Regions from separate parts of the Homo sapiens genome. Here regions 2, 3 and 4 are each linked to region 1. The links are contacts of gene promoters, found by promoter capture Hi-C in blood cells and fetal thymus (Javierre and others, 2016). All regions are on one chromosome and are shown on one strand. Each heading gives the region's core, a stretch centred on a gene start or on the middle of the fragment in contact. The rest is flanking DNA. Distances are from core to core; before and after follow the strand shown.

Region 1 (3,033 bases), core at 188-2,687:
TACACAGATTTCTAGCAATTAATTTGAAATAGAAAAACAGCCATGATACCTTTTCTAACCCCCCTTTATCAGAAGAACATTTAGAAGGCTTTTAAAGCCCAAACCATTATATTATCTTTTGGCGACCGACTAGGAGAACTTGGGTTCTCTATGCTTTAGCACTGTGAAAGTGCATCTTCCAGATCAGCACATTTATAATGCGAATTGCTGATAAAGAACCATTTTGTACCTGCAAGGTATTAATCAAAAGTCATGAATTCGCCTTTTAACTGGGCTTGTCATTTAAACAATCTATGCATAATTCTGATTTCATGCGAAACTTTTCTAATTAGACATTTTTTGCTTAAACATCAATATTGGGCTTTACGGATGCATAAGGAATAGGCAGACAGTGGAAGATTTTAGTTTAAAAGTGCTCAGCATCCAGCTAATTAATCTATGCAGATAGGCCTAATCCATTTTCCATTTGTTTGTGAGGTGGGAGCTCTCATCTTTCTGCCACTTTTAAATGACCTCACATTTCCAAGTATAAATTTGGAGAAAAGACCCGGATCAGAGGAATCCTCCATCAAAACTGGACGCCACTGTCTGATGGCGTTAATTATGTTTTAGCGACTGACTAGGAGGGCTAGAGTTCCTTCTTCCTTTTGGTGTAATACAACTGCATTTTCCGGATCATCGTATTATATTGCTAATTCCGGATAAACCACCATTTGTCCTGCACACCGAGCTGAGGGGCGCCTTGGCGTTCCCTCTCCGAGTGCAGCCCTAACACAGGCTTTTGACCTTCAGCCTGGAATACACTTTCGTTTGTCATTGGGGCCCACGTAGTGCGAAAATGGGCGGCAGATTTGGTAGGACTTCCAGCGGGTGAACTTTGGGAAGAGTCCAGGACGTGAATTTAATGGGTGGAGTGGCTGCGGCAGCACTGTGAAGTTAGCGCGGCCAACTGCAGGAAGCCATGCTTCATTACACCCTTCATGGAAGCTGGCACACTCGCCCCACCCTCGTTTTCCACGGGCCAGTCTTGGAGGAAAAGGCCAGCAGGTAGGTTCCCAGGGCACGGAGATGATGCCCCCGGGGACTCCCCTCTGGCGATTCTGAGAAAACCCCTTCCCAGCCCTGGGCGTCCACCTCCCCCGCCACCTCCCAGGCCTCTTCCCGACGCTCACACGCGGCCCGCGCCACCAGCGCTGCAGAGGGCGGCCCTAACGTCCCCGCCCCCGCGTGCGCGCCCCCGCGCCCGTTCATTCCGGCCTCCGCGCGCCGCCGGCTCCCCTCGCGCCCACCCCCAGCACACCTCGGCGGCGGCGAGCGGCGCGGGGGAGGGGGACGGGGCCCCGGAGGTAGGCCGGGGGCAGCCAACAGGCCGCGGCAGCGCGCACGCAGGGCTAGCCTCGCCCAGGCCTCCTCCCTCACGCCGGCCGCAGGACGGGCGCGCACGCCAAGTGACGCTCCGAGGAGGAAGCGCAGCCCCCTTCCCCTCCCTCGCTGCCCCTGGCCCAGCGGGAGCCCCCCCTCCCCCCAGTGCGCCTGTGCGGAGGCCCTCTTGATTATGTGTGCCCTCTCCGGGCGCCCGCGTTAGCGGCCGGGTGGAGGTGGGGAGGGAAGACGCTGAGGAGGAGGAGGAGGCGGAGGAGGCGGTGGAGGGGAGGTGGGGGGAATCAGCAAGGACATGGCTCCTGACTCCTGTGCGGAACGTGAGTGACTGAGCGGCAAAGCCCGAGTGAGCGAGCGGTGGGCTGCCGGGCCGGGCGGGGGGCGCCGGGGCGGGCTCGGGGGGCTGTGTGGGGGGGAAGCACTAATCGGCTTGCATGTGTTTTTTAATGGTCCCCCCAACTCCCTCTTAGATGGTCTCTAGCGACCGGCCCGTGTCACTGGAGGACGAGGTCTCCCATAGTATGAAGGAGATGATTGGAGGCTGTTGCGTTTGCTCAGACGAGAGAGGCTGGGCCGAGAACCCGCTGGTTTATTGCGACGGGCACGGCTGCAGCGTCGCGGTGCATCAAGGTAAACACCCAACCGCCCGCCGGGGCGCGCCGGCCTGCGCCCAACGGTCACCGCCGCCCCCACCTGGGCCGCAACCGCCGGCGCCCCCGCCCCGTGCCGCGGCCGCGGGAGGGACGCGGAGGGTCCGCGGCGGGGCGCGGGGGGTGTGGGCCGCGCATGTGGGAGAAAGTGCGTGTGGCCCGGACTGTCATGTGATTCCGCTCTCACTCTCTCAAGTGTCATTCGGCCGCCGCCTGCGCCTGGGGCCGGGGTCTGCTGACTCGGCGGGGCGGGGCGGGGCAGGGCGGCGGCCGCGCCCTCGAGATCTGGGCCGGGGTGGGGGCGGGGGCGGGGGCGGGGGCGGTGCGCGCCCTTCCCGGGGTTCCCGGGGCCACGGGGGTGGGTTTGGGAGAGTGGAGCGCCCTCTTCTCCCCTGGCCTGCAGCCGCCTGTCTGCCGCAGTGTTTGGAGACTTCCTGTGGCGTGGAGACGGGCTCGGGAACGCGGCGCCAGTGTGGGGAGGCTGGGGGTCGCCTTGCCTCTTTAGATGGGGAGGGATGCGGGGCCCGTTGCACCCCGAGCCAGAAGGCTCGGGCCCTGCCGCCGCCGCCCGGTAGCTGTCTGCGGAGGAGATGGCGGAGTCCGTTGCTGACCATGCGGGAGTGGCGGGGCTGCTGCAGCGCCTGTGGGGTGGCCGCGGCAGGCCACCACCAGCCTAGGTGGCTGAAGAGGTGGCGGTGCCAAGTCACTTTTGGGGAGCCTCTTAGTTTATTTCTGGTTGTTAACAATTGATGAGGTTTTTGGATATACAAGAAGGCCGAGGACACTAGTAAGATACTTTTCTGGCCTTTGAAGTGGCCGACTTTTCCCCATTTCACGTGGTAAGGAATCCAGGACAAAACAGTCTATATTCTTTTTTGGTGGCTCCATGTCCCTTCGCATTTCTGAATCTGGCATTAAGCGATGCATATGTTTTTAGTAGTCTGTTGGAAAGGACTACCACCAAAAGGGAGACGAAAATTTGAACATCTGCTAAAGTGCATTT
Region 2 (3,033 bases), core at 253-2,752, 200 kb after region 1:
TTCCTGTATTAAATCAGGTAATTTTTGTATGGTTATTTTCATCTATGTTGATTTACTTGTGAATAATAGTATATTAAATGGTTTAAAATTATTTTAAACAGTTTTGCAGTGTTCTTTAAACTTAGTTTCTCTTCTTTCTTACGCTGGGACTTAATGTCCAGTGGACTTAGTTTCTCTTCTTTCTTACGCTAGGACTTAACCTCCAGTGGACAAAGTACCAGCAGCTCATCAGCTCTTTCTACCCCACCTCCTGCTGGGCAGAGTCCGGCTCAACAAGGCTCAGGAGTGAGTGGAGTTCAGCAGGTCAATGGCGTGACAGTGGGGGCACTAGCTAGTGGAATGCAGCCTGTAACTTCCACCATTCCTGCCGTGTCTGCAGTGGGTGGAATAATTGGAGCTTTGCCAGGTAACCAACTGGCAATTAATGGCATTGTAGGAGCTTTAAATGGGGTTATGCAGACTCCTGTCACAATGTCCCAGAACCCTACCCCTCTCACCCACACAACCGTACCACCTAATGCAACACATCCAATGCCAGCTACACTGACTAACAGGTAAGAAACTTAAGTATGTTTTGGGTTTTTTAGTATAACAGAGTACCGGTGTTGTCTATGCCTTAGATTGGGGCTTTCAATGTGTTCCTTTGTAGATACACCTTAAGAAGTCTGCCAAAAATTTTAAGTATATTATACAGAGTACATTTATTTTTGAAACTTAAGTAATTTAGATTAAAATTAAGTTACTTTTAGTAACAGCATTATGTTCTGTGCTGAAAATTAGTCTTAATCTGTGATGTCTGTTTTTAAATACTAGTTTTTCTTATTTCTTTGTATACTGTATCATAAATTCTGAAGAAAGATATCGTAGTGGAGATAACATGAATATTAGTTTCCTAAAATTTATGTAATATTTTTAATGTTCTAATCAAAGATTTTGATATAGGATAAAGGTCATTTATCTGAATTCCCAGGAAGTGAGACTCACTGGTTTCATTGTACTGGAACTGCATTTGAATGTTTGTTCAAAACTAGGGGACTAAAGCTATGTTGTTATTAAGCATACTTTTGGGGGAATAAATACTTTTAAATGGATTTGCAGTGGGTACTAGAAAGCTATTTCCTGTAGCTCTCTTCCTTGGTGTTTAGTTTTACCATTGGGACCATTAGAAAAGGATAGGTCAAATCAGTGGTATGTTTGGATTCTTTGTTTCAAATATGTGTTTACTTAGTGTGAGTTAAATTATCCTTGAATAATTAAAGATAAATTATTACATACGCTTGTTAGAAACACATGTAAATTTCTATTCCATAAAATGAGTTAGGGCCTATTTGTTTTATAATAAAAACATTTCTTGACAATGTGAATTCTTGTTTAGCTGTACACATGGATGTATATAAACATACATATATATAGAAATTGTACATAACTGTTTTCAGAGTGTTTGGATTCAGAATTGTACTTAAGTTATTAAACATCAAATTGAAAAGTTGTCTTTCATTTTTAGACTTCTAAAAATGCATTAGAGGTGTGTAGTAAAAAGTAAGAATTGTAATCATTTTTCAGTGCCTCAGGACTAGGATTACTTTCTGACCAGCAACGACAAATACTTATTCATCAACAGCAGTTTCAGCAGTTGTTAAATTCTCAACAGCTCACACCAGTAAGTTCTTTCTTTTGATAATATCTTATTAGGAGCATGTGTTCTAAGCTGTAATATTCACTGTGGGTACAGATTTCTCCTTTGTGAAATAACATTATTGAATGCATAATCAAAAAAGTTTTTCTTGCCATGTGGTACAGGCTGTGATACCTGCAGTGATGTCACATTCATTCCTGAACTTAAAAGTGACAGGGCACGTGGCATGGTGCTGCCATAGGCTCTGGTAACACAGTGCTGAGATGTGGTGCGTGTTTTCCCGGAGCTTCATTTTGATACGGGAGATGGATGGACACGATGCACGCTTTTTGGTTGTGATAAATACTGAGAAGAACAAAGAAGTGGAATAAGTGGGGAAGAGCATAGGGAACCGAGGACCATTTTAGATAGGATGGCCCCGCCTCTGCAAGGGGGGTGACTTTTGAGCACAGACCGATGTGAGAGTTCAGGGAGTGTGCCTTTGTGACTTGAGGGAACGCAGAGAGAAAGCACGTTGGAGGTAAAGGGGCAGCTGCTGTCAAAGGTCTGGACGTACTTGTGTTCGGAAGAGAAGTCAGCAGCCATGTGGTCAGAGGGTGGGAGAGGTCAGAGCCAAGGGGGTGGTCTTAGATGATCGCATACAGCCTTTCTTGGCTGTGGCAAGAAATTTGGATTTTATCTTAAGTATGAATGGAAAGCCACTGGCGAGTTTTTAAAAATCTATTACGGAGGATTTCAAGTGTACCAAAAGTAGAGTGGAGAGCACCCTGAAGACCTATGTACGCCTCATTCCATTCTCTCACCCAGTGCTAATAATCTTAGTTTTGTTTATCTCATTTCATTCTCCATTTTTTTCAGGATTAAGAATTGGAAGGTTTTGAACAGAATAGTGAAATAATGATTTACATTTTAAAGGATTAGTTTTGCTGCTATATGGAGAATAGTCTGTGTGTGTTATAGGGTGTGGGGGAGTGAAGACAGAGGCAAAAGTGGAAAAAGGGAGTGATCCAGGCAGGAGACGTAGGTGTTAAAATAGTATGGGCTACGTATTGAAAACTGCCTGGAATTGTGGTATATATATGTATATTTTTGAGAGGGAGTTTTGCTCTGTCGCCCAGGCTGGAGTGCAGTGGCACAATCTGGGCTCCTTGCAACCTCCATCTCCTGGGCTCAAGTGATCCTCCTGCCTCAGCCTCCCGAGTAGCTGGGACTACAGGCATGTCCCACCATGCCTGGCTAATTTTGTATTTTTTGTAGAGACAGGGTTTCACCATGTTGCCCAGGCTGGTCTTGAACTCCTGACCTCAAGTGATCTGCCCTTAGCCTTCCAAAGTGCTGGAATTACAGGTGTGAGCCACTGTGCCCAGCCAAGATGTTTTGAAGACAGAACCAACAAG
Region 3 (3,033 bases), core at 285-2,784, 180 kb after region 1:
TGGGAGGCCGAGGCGGGTGGATCACCTGAGGTTAGGAGTTCGAGACCAGCCTCAACATGGAGAAACCCCATCTCTACTAAAAATACAAAATTAGCCGGGCGCGGTGGTGCATGCCTGTAATCCCAGCTACTCGGGAGGCTGAGGCAGGAGAATTGCTTGAACCTGGGAGGCAGAGGTTGCGGTGAGCCAAGATCACGCCATTGCGCTCCAGCCTGGGCAACAAGAGCGAAACTCCGTCTCAAAAAAAAAAAAAAAAAAAAAAAATTGTTCCCTGGAAAGTGGTCAAGGAGATAAGATTGGGAAGGGCTAGTAGAAGTTAAAAACTTAGAATAACTTGAAACTTGATTTGTGCTGGGAAAAGGAGATACTTGTAAAATTGGCGGGTGGGGGGTGGGGAGGGGAGTCTGATAGCAGCATACATTTTGGGGAAAAAACCTTTAAAAAACTGTTTGATTTTATATTCTTATATTCCTCCTCCTCCTCCTCCTCCTCCTCCTCCTCCACCACCTCCTCCTCCTCCTCCTCCTCCCTTCTTCTTTCTTCTTCTTTCTTCCTCTTCCTCTTCTTTCTTCCTCTTCCTCTTCTTTCTTCCTCTTCTTCCTCCTCTTCCTCCTCCTCCTCCTCCTTTTCCTCCTCCTCTTCCTCCTCCTCTTCCTCCTCCTCTTCCTCCTCCTCCTCCTCCTCCTCTTCCTCCTCCTCCTCTTCCTCCTCCTCCTCCTCCTCTTCCTCCTCCTCTTCCTCCTCCTCCTCCTCCGCTGCTGCTGCTGCTTCTTCTTCTTCTTCTTCTCCTTCTTCTTCTCCTTCTTCTCCTCCTTCTCCTCCTCCTTCTCCTCCTCCTTCTCCTCCTCCTTCTCCTCCTCCTTCTCCTCCTCCTTCTCCTCCTCCTCCTCCTCCTCCTTCTCCTTCTCCTTCTTCTTCTCCTTCTTTTCTTCTTTCTTCTTCTTTCTTCTTCTTTCTTCTTTTTGAGACTACAGGTGCCCGCCACCACGCCTGGCTAATTTTTGTATTTTTGATAGAGATGGAGTTTCACCATGTTGGTCAGGCTGGTCTCGAACTCCAGACTTCAGGTGATCTGCCCACCTTGGCCTCCCAAAGTGCTGGGATTACAGGTGTGGGCCACTGCGCCCGGCCTCTATTTTATATTCTTAAGTGTTAAACCCTTTTTTTTTTCCCCCTTTCAACAGACTAGTTTTTAGAGTAATGGCTCTTTCACAAATAATTGATAGGAAGCCTGCTTTACTACATACTAGTATATTAGTAATAGAGTAGTTTCTTAACATTGCGGGAAGAGCGGACTCCTGTCCATGTGACTGTTAATCATGGATCAGGGTAGAGGTATAAATTAGTTTCTGTAGGAGTGTCATTAATTTTTCATTTTGCCTTTCAAATCCTGCTGTTTCCTAGTTCTGCAGTCATTCTGTACTGTCTTTGGGAGAATGCAGGTGCTTTTTTTTTGGTTTGAAGGATGATTTCTTTAGTAGAAGAACTTAAGACTGAATGCAATGAAACATAATTGCATTCCGTTACATCCTACTTTCTGAGTTTTGCGTTTGAAATACAATCTTCATGTGATAATCATGGCTTCTTGTCTATCCCATGTTACTGTTAAACAAAATGATGTAGACTTAACATTTAAAGTAAAATAAACTTCCAAGGTTTATTTATGTGATATTTAGGAAATGCAGATATTTCGTGTTTTTGTTGTTGTTTGTTTGTTTGTTTTTTTGAGACGGAGTCTCACTCTGTTGCCGAGGCTAGAGTGCAATGGCACGATCTCGGCTCACTGCAAACTCTGCCCCTGCCAGGTTCAAGTGATTCTCCTGCCTCAGCCTCCTGAGTACCTGGGACTACACACGTGCACCACCACGCCTGGCTAATTTTTGTGTTTTTGGTAGAGATGGGGTTTCACCATGTTGGCCAGGCTGGTCTCGAACTCCTGACCTCATGATCCACCCACCTTGGCCTCCCAAAGTGCTGGGATTGCAGGCGTGAGCCACCTCGCCTGGGCATATTTCTGTATTTTAAACATACAATTTAGTGACTAGAGTTTTGCAGATTTCTGTGACACTTTCATCTCAATTAGCTTCGAATATTTTGTTTTCCAATATGATTATGTATGTGTGTGTTTATGTAGGGGAAGTTGTCTAAGATGTAGTCTCCGATTTCTTTTCAGATGATGTCTAATAAGGACACTTTAATTCTGCTTGAGAAAATGGTTTCGTTTCTCAGGCAGATTTAACTGACTTCTGGGGTGATATTTATGTTTATACTTAATTAGTCAGAATGTAAATTTCTTCTGATTTCAATAATATAATGACTTATAATTTTAAGGGAATTACCTTTCTGAGGAAAATCAGTTTTCATAACCTTGGTAACATCTCTTGTTACCAGATGATGAAAAGGTTCAGTCACAGTCACATATCTGTAAGTCTGGAATTAAGACATGATTCCTTAGCCTGCTCTCTTATTACTAATTGTTACTGTTAAAATGAATTTCCCAATTATGTACTTCTTATGCTAAGAGGTATCTCCTTGGAAAACGTTGTTAGTAATTTTACTGTGTTCATTTGTGTGATGCAATGCAGAAGAGAGAAATTTGAGTCAGCAAAAGTCCTGGGTTCCAGGAGTTTTGCTACTCACTTGTATAACCTTGGGCAGGTCTTTTAATTTTTGTGAGCCTCAATGTTTCCATATGTAAAATGGGAATACTTTAAGTACCTGTTCTACCTGCTATACAGATACTTTATGAGGTTCAAATGCAGACCATAAAATACTTTAGAATTCATGGTTATTGACTTCAACTGTTACTCTTCAGCCTAATTACCAGTGAGAAATTGTACAGGAACACTTCCTGTATTGGAAATAGTATTAACAATTTCTGTTAAAACTCATATAATTCATGCTAACATAGATAAATGAATTTTAGCCAGTATATATATTCAGCTGTGGATTAAGGTCTTTCCCAGTTCCAAAATTATTTCAATAGCTGCCTTTGTCCTACAGTAATTTTTTCCCAGAAAGGTAAGAGCTATA
Region 4 (3,033 bases), core at 171-2,670, 140 kb after region 1:
GTAGTCCTAGCTACTCGGAGAGGCTGAGGCAGGAGAATGGCGTGAACCTGAGAGGCAGAGCTCGCAGTGAGCAGAGATCACACCACTGCACTCCAGCCTGGGCGACAGAGCGAGACTCCGTCTCAAAAAAAAAAAATTACTCTGGGGCTGGGCATGGTGACTTACGCCTGTAATCCCAGTACTTTGGGAGGCCGAGGTGGGCAGGTCACCTGAGGTCAAGAGATCTAGACCGTCCTGGCCAACATGGTGAAACCCGGTCTCTACTAAAAATAGAAAAATTAGCTAGACGTGGTGGCACGCACCTGTAGTCCCAGCTACTAGGGAGGCTGAGGCAGGAGAATCGCTTAAACCCGGGAGGCAGAGGTTGCAGTGAGCCGAGATCGGGCCACTGCACTCCAGCCTGGGAGACAGAGCGAGACTCCATCTCAAAAAAAAAAAAAAAAAAAAAAAAAAAAAAAAAAAATTACTCTGAAGATATTTTATGTCTTGTTAAAGCTATAATCATGGAATAAGATTATTGAAAACTCTTTGAGATATATTCTTTAGTTTTATGTATGTTAATAAACATTTTAGGACTTAGTGCAGAACATTTATTGACAATAGTAAAAAGCGTATCCTTATCTAGAAGAGGCTTGGCTTCATGTGCTGCTTTAATCATAGTAAGTTAAGAATTGCTAACTGCTGATGAACACTTAGTATGTGCCACACACTGTGTTAAGCAGTTAATAAGCATTAAGTGTTATTACTCATTATATAGGACAAGAAACTGAGACAGAATTCTCTTAGGTTTTAAGTGATGGAGATATGCATTTTCCCTGGGTCCAGAGCCATTTAATTAGACAGCTCAACAGATGTTTGCTGATGAGGGTCTAACACCACACTAGTGTAATGTCAGTCATACTTTAAGCAAAGAGATCCCTGAACAAATTTGAACCAATAATTTAACTTTCAGCAATAGTGTTTCTTATTGGTATGAAAAGTTAATTTTTCCTTTGGACTAATTTGAAATTGAGAAATCATTTAGTAATTGTGACAACAAGAAGCTTCCCCCCATATAATAAATAAGTAGGAAGGAGAAAATGTATACAGTCATCCTTTGGCATCCATGGGGACTTGGTTCCAGGACCTCCTGCAAATAAATACCCAAGTCCAAGATGCTCAAGTTCCTGTTATAAAACGTCATAGTATTTTCATATAACCTATGCACATCTTCCTGTGTACTTAAATCATTCTTTTCTAGATTTCTTATAATACCTAGTATCATGTAAATGCTATGCAAATAGTTGTTATACTATATTGCTTAGGGAATCATGACAGGAAAAAAAGTCTGTACACATTCAGTACAGACTCAATTTTTTCCTCCAAATATTTTCTATACAAGGGTGTTGAATCCCCAGATGTGGAATCCCACAGACACAGAAGACAACTGTATTATGTATTACATCATCACAAGTTGTTTTTCATGATGCTGTTTTTAAAAGATTGACTTTCTTGAATGACAGGTCGATAATTTAGTAATGTCGAAGATGACCTTTGTAAGCACCTGTTGTTTAAACTATAACATTCACTATAATACTAACTCCTGAGGCTAGGGGCTGTTTCTGACATACACCACTGTATCCCCACTGCCAGCACAGTGCTTTGGACATAGTAAACGTTAAACATTATTTTAAGAAATGAATGAATACCATTAGTTGTCTCGTGAGTGTATGTCATGTGGTTAGAAGTATGCTGTATGATTTTGTACTTCCCCTCTGAGTGTTTATAGCTAAGCTGTAAGACATATTACTTTATTTGTAAAGCTTTTCTTTTCTTTTCTTTTCTTTTTTGAGCTGGAGTCTTGCTCTATTGACCAGGCTAGAGTGTAGTGGCCTGATCTCAGCTCACTGCCACCTCTGCCTCCCGAGTTAAAGCAGTTCCCCTGCCTCAGCCTCCCTAGTAGCTGGGACTACAGGTGCGCGCCACCACACTCAGCTAATTTTTGTATTTTTAATAGAGACAGGGTTTCACCATGTTGGCCAGGACAGTCTCCATCTCTTGACCTCATGATCCACCTGCCTCAGCCTCGCAAAATGCTGGGATTACAGGTGTGAGCCACTGGGCCCAGCTATTTTTAAAGCTTTTCATGTAGTATTTATTTTGCCAGTTTATGATGAAAAGTATTATTAAGTTGGAAAAGATCATGGAGAGGTTGAATTGTACTTTGAAGTAGGCAGAAGACGAAGGCCAATATTACCTGAAAAGAAAGTAAAGGTCTGTTTGAGGGAAAAGCCTAATAAGAACAGGAAGCTTGTATTTGTGGCACTGTGAAGGTGATGTTTATAGGGTAGGATGGGTTCATTGAGAGATTAATGCCAGACTGAAGAAATCAAACTGATAGGCTAATGATCTTTTTCTTAAAATAACTATTCTGGCTAGTTACCATTATGAAAGAATTTCATTAATGGAAAAGAAAAAAAATGCTATCTCATTCAGCTTGGCAATGCTAATATAATCTCTTATTTGAGTACGTTTAAGTTTCTTAGGAACTCTTTAGTTACTCTCTCATTTGATCCTTGGAACAGCCTTGTGAAATAGGACAGCTCCTCTTGATGTTGTTATTTCTCCTTTACAACTAGGATGTAAAGCAGGAGTAGAGTCAGGTTCTAATGTGATTCCCTCTTGAAATTATTGGCTAAAAGCATCAGTTTTAATAGTAATCAAAATTCTCTCATGACATGTTCAAATTGTAGCAGAGTACATTTTTTCTGGGAACTGTAGATCAAATTAGAGTAGAAGCCTAGAAAACACCTATAAAATGTTTGATTCAGAGTTCAGATTCTAAAATTTGTATTATGGATTGAAGTGTGTCCTGATAAATGGCCTGTTTTATAGTGACTTGTACAAAATGGAAAATTAGTGTGTTTCTAAAAGTGATTTCTAAGAGTTTTAAGTTTGGGGCTTATAGGTTTTGTTGGTTTTTTGACTGAACTCTTTCCTACGTACATTTTTTTGGGTTCTGAACAGTTAGGCACGAGGTCTTTTGAAACATCA

Evidence for each region. The method cuts DNA at HindIII sites, captures the fragments that hold promoters and counts their contacts. A CHiCAGO score of 5 or more calls a contact.
Region 2: a contact is called between a fragment that was not itself captured here and the fragment with the promoter of MLLT10 in region 1, in 4 of 17 cell types (megakaryocytes, fetal thymus, endothelial precursors and 1 more). The highest score is 9.3, in megakaryocytes.
Region 3: a fragment that was not itself captured here is called in contact with the fragment with the promoter of MLLT10 in region 1 in 2 of 17 cell types (megakaryocytes and erythroblasts); the score reaches 5.4 in megakaryocytes.
Region 4: a contact is called between a fragment that was not itself captured here and the fragment with the promoter of MLLT10 in region 1, in 1 of 17 cell types (megakaryocytes). The highest score is 5.9, in megakaryocytes.

The regions. Positions count from the first base shown.
Region 1 is chr10:21,532,795-21,535,827 of GRCh38, forward strand. MLLT10 (MLLT10 histone lysine methyltransferase DOT1L cofactor) reads left to right here and starts at 1,438. Exons shown (of 23, transcript NM_001195626.3): 1 at 1,438-1,726; 2 at 1,851-2,010. The coding sequence starts at 1,851. RefSeq lists enhancers at 1,007-1,720, 2,436-3,033 and silencers at 1,086-1,615, 1,626-1,695, 1,806-2,145, 2,286-2,375. The HindIII fragment of the contact is 10,036 bases long and covers 1-3,033 here.
Region 2 is chr10:21,733,576-21,736,608 of GRCh38, forward strand. It overlaps MLLT10 (MLLT10 histone lysine methyltransferase DOT1L cofactor), which reads left to right. Exons shown (of 23, transcript NM_001195626.3): 19 at 1-17; 20 at 193-554; 21 at 1,564-1,660. The region is part of intron 1 of LOC107984214 (a long non-coding RNA gene); the gene reads right to left. Among named protein-coding and RNA genes, the nearest start is that of MLLT10, 200 kb to the left of the region's middle. The HindIII fragment of the contact is 3,312 bases long and covers 1-3,033 here.
Region 3 is chr10:21,717,014-21,720,046 of GRCh38, forward strand. The region is part of intron 14 of MLLT10 (MLLT10 histone lysine methyltransferase DOT1L cofactor); the gene reads left to right. Among named protein-coding and RNA genes, the nearest start is that of MLLT10, 180 kb to the left of the region's middle. The HindIII fragment of the contact is 5,162 bases long and covers 1-3,033 here.
Region 4 is chr10:21,676,294-21,679,326 of GRCh38, forward strand. All of the region lies in intron 11 of MLLT10 (MLLT10 histone lysine methyltransferase DOT1L cofactor), which reads left to right. Among named protein-coding and RNA genes, the nearest start is that of MLLT10, 140 kb to the left of the region's middle. The HindIII fragment of the contact is 759 bases long and covers 1,042-1,800 here.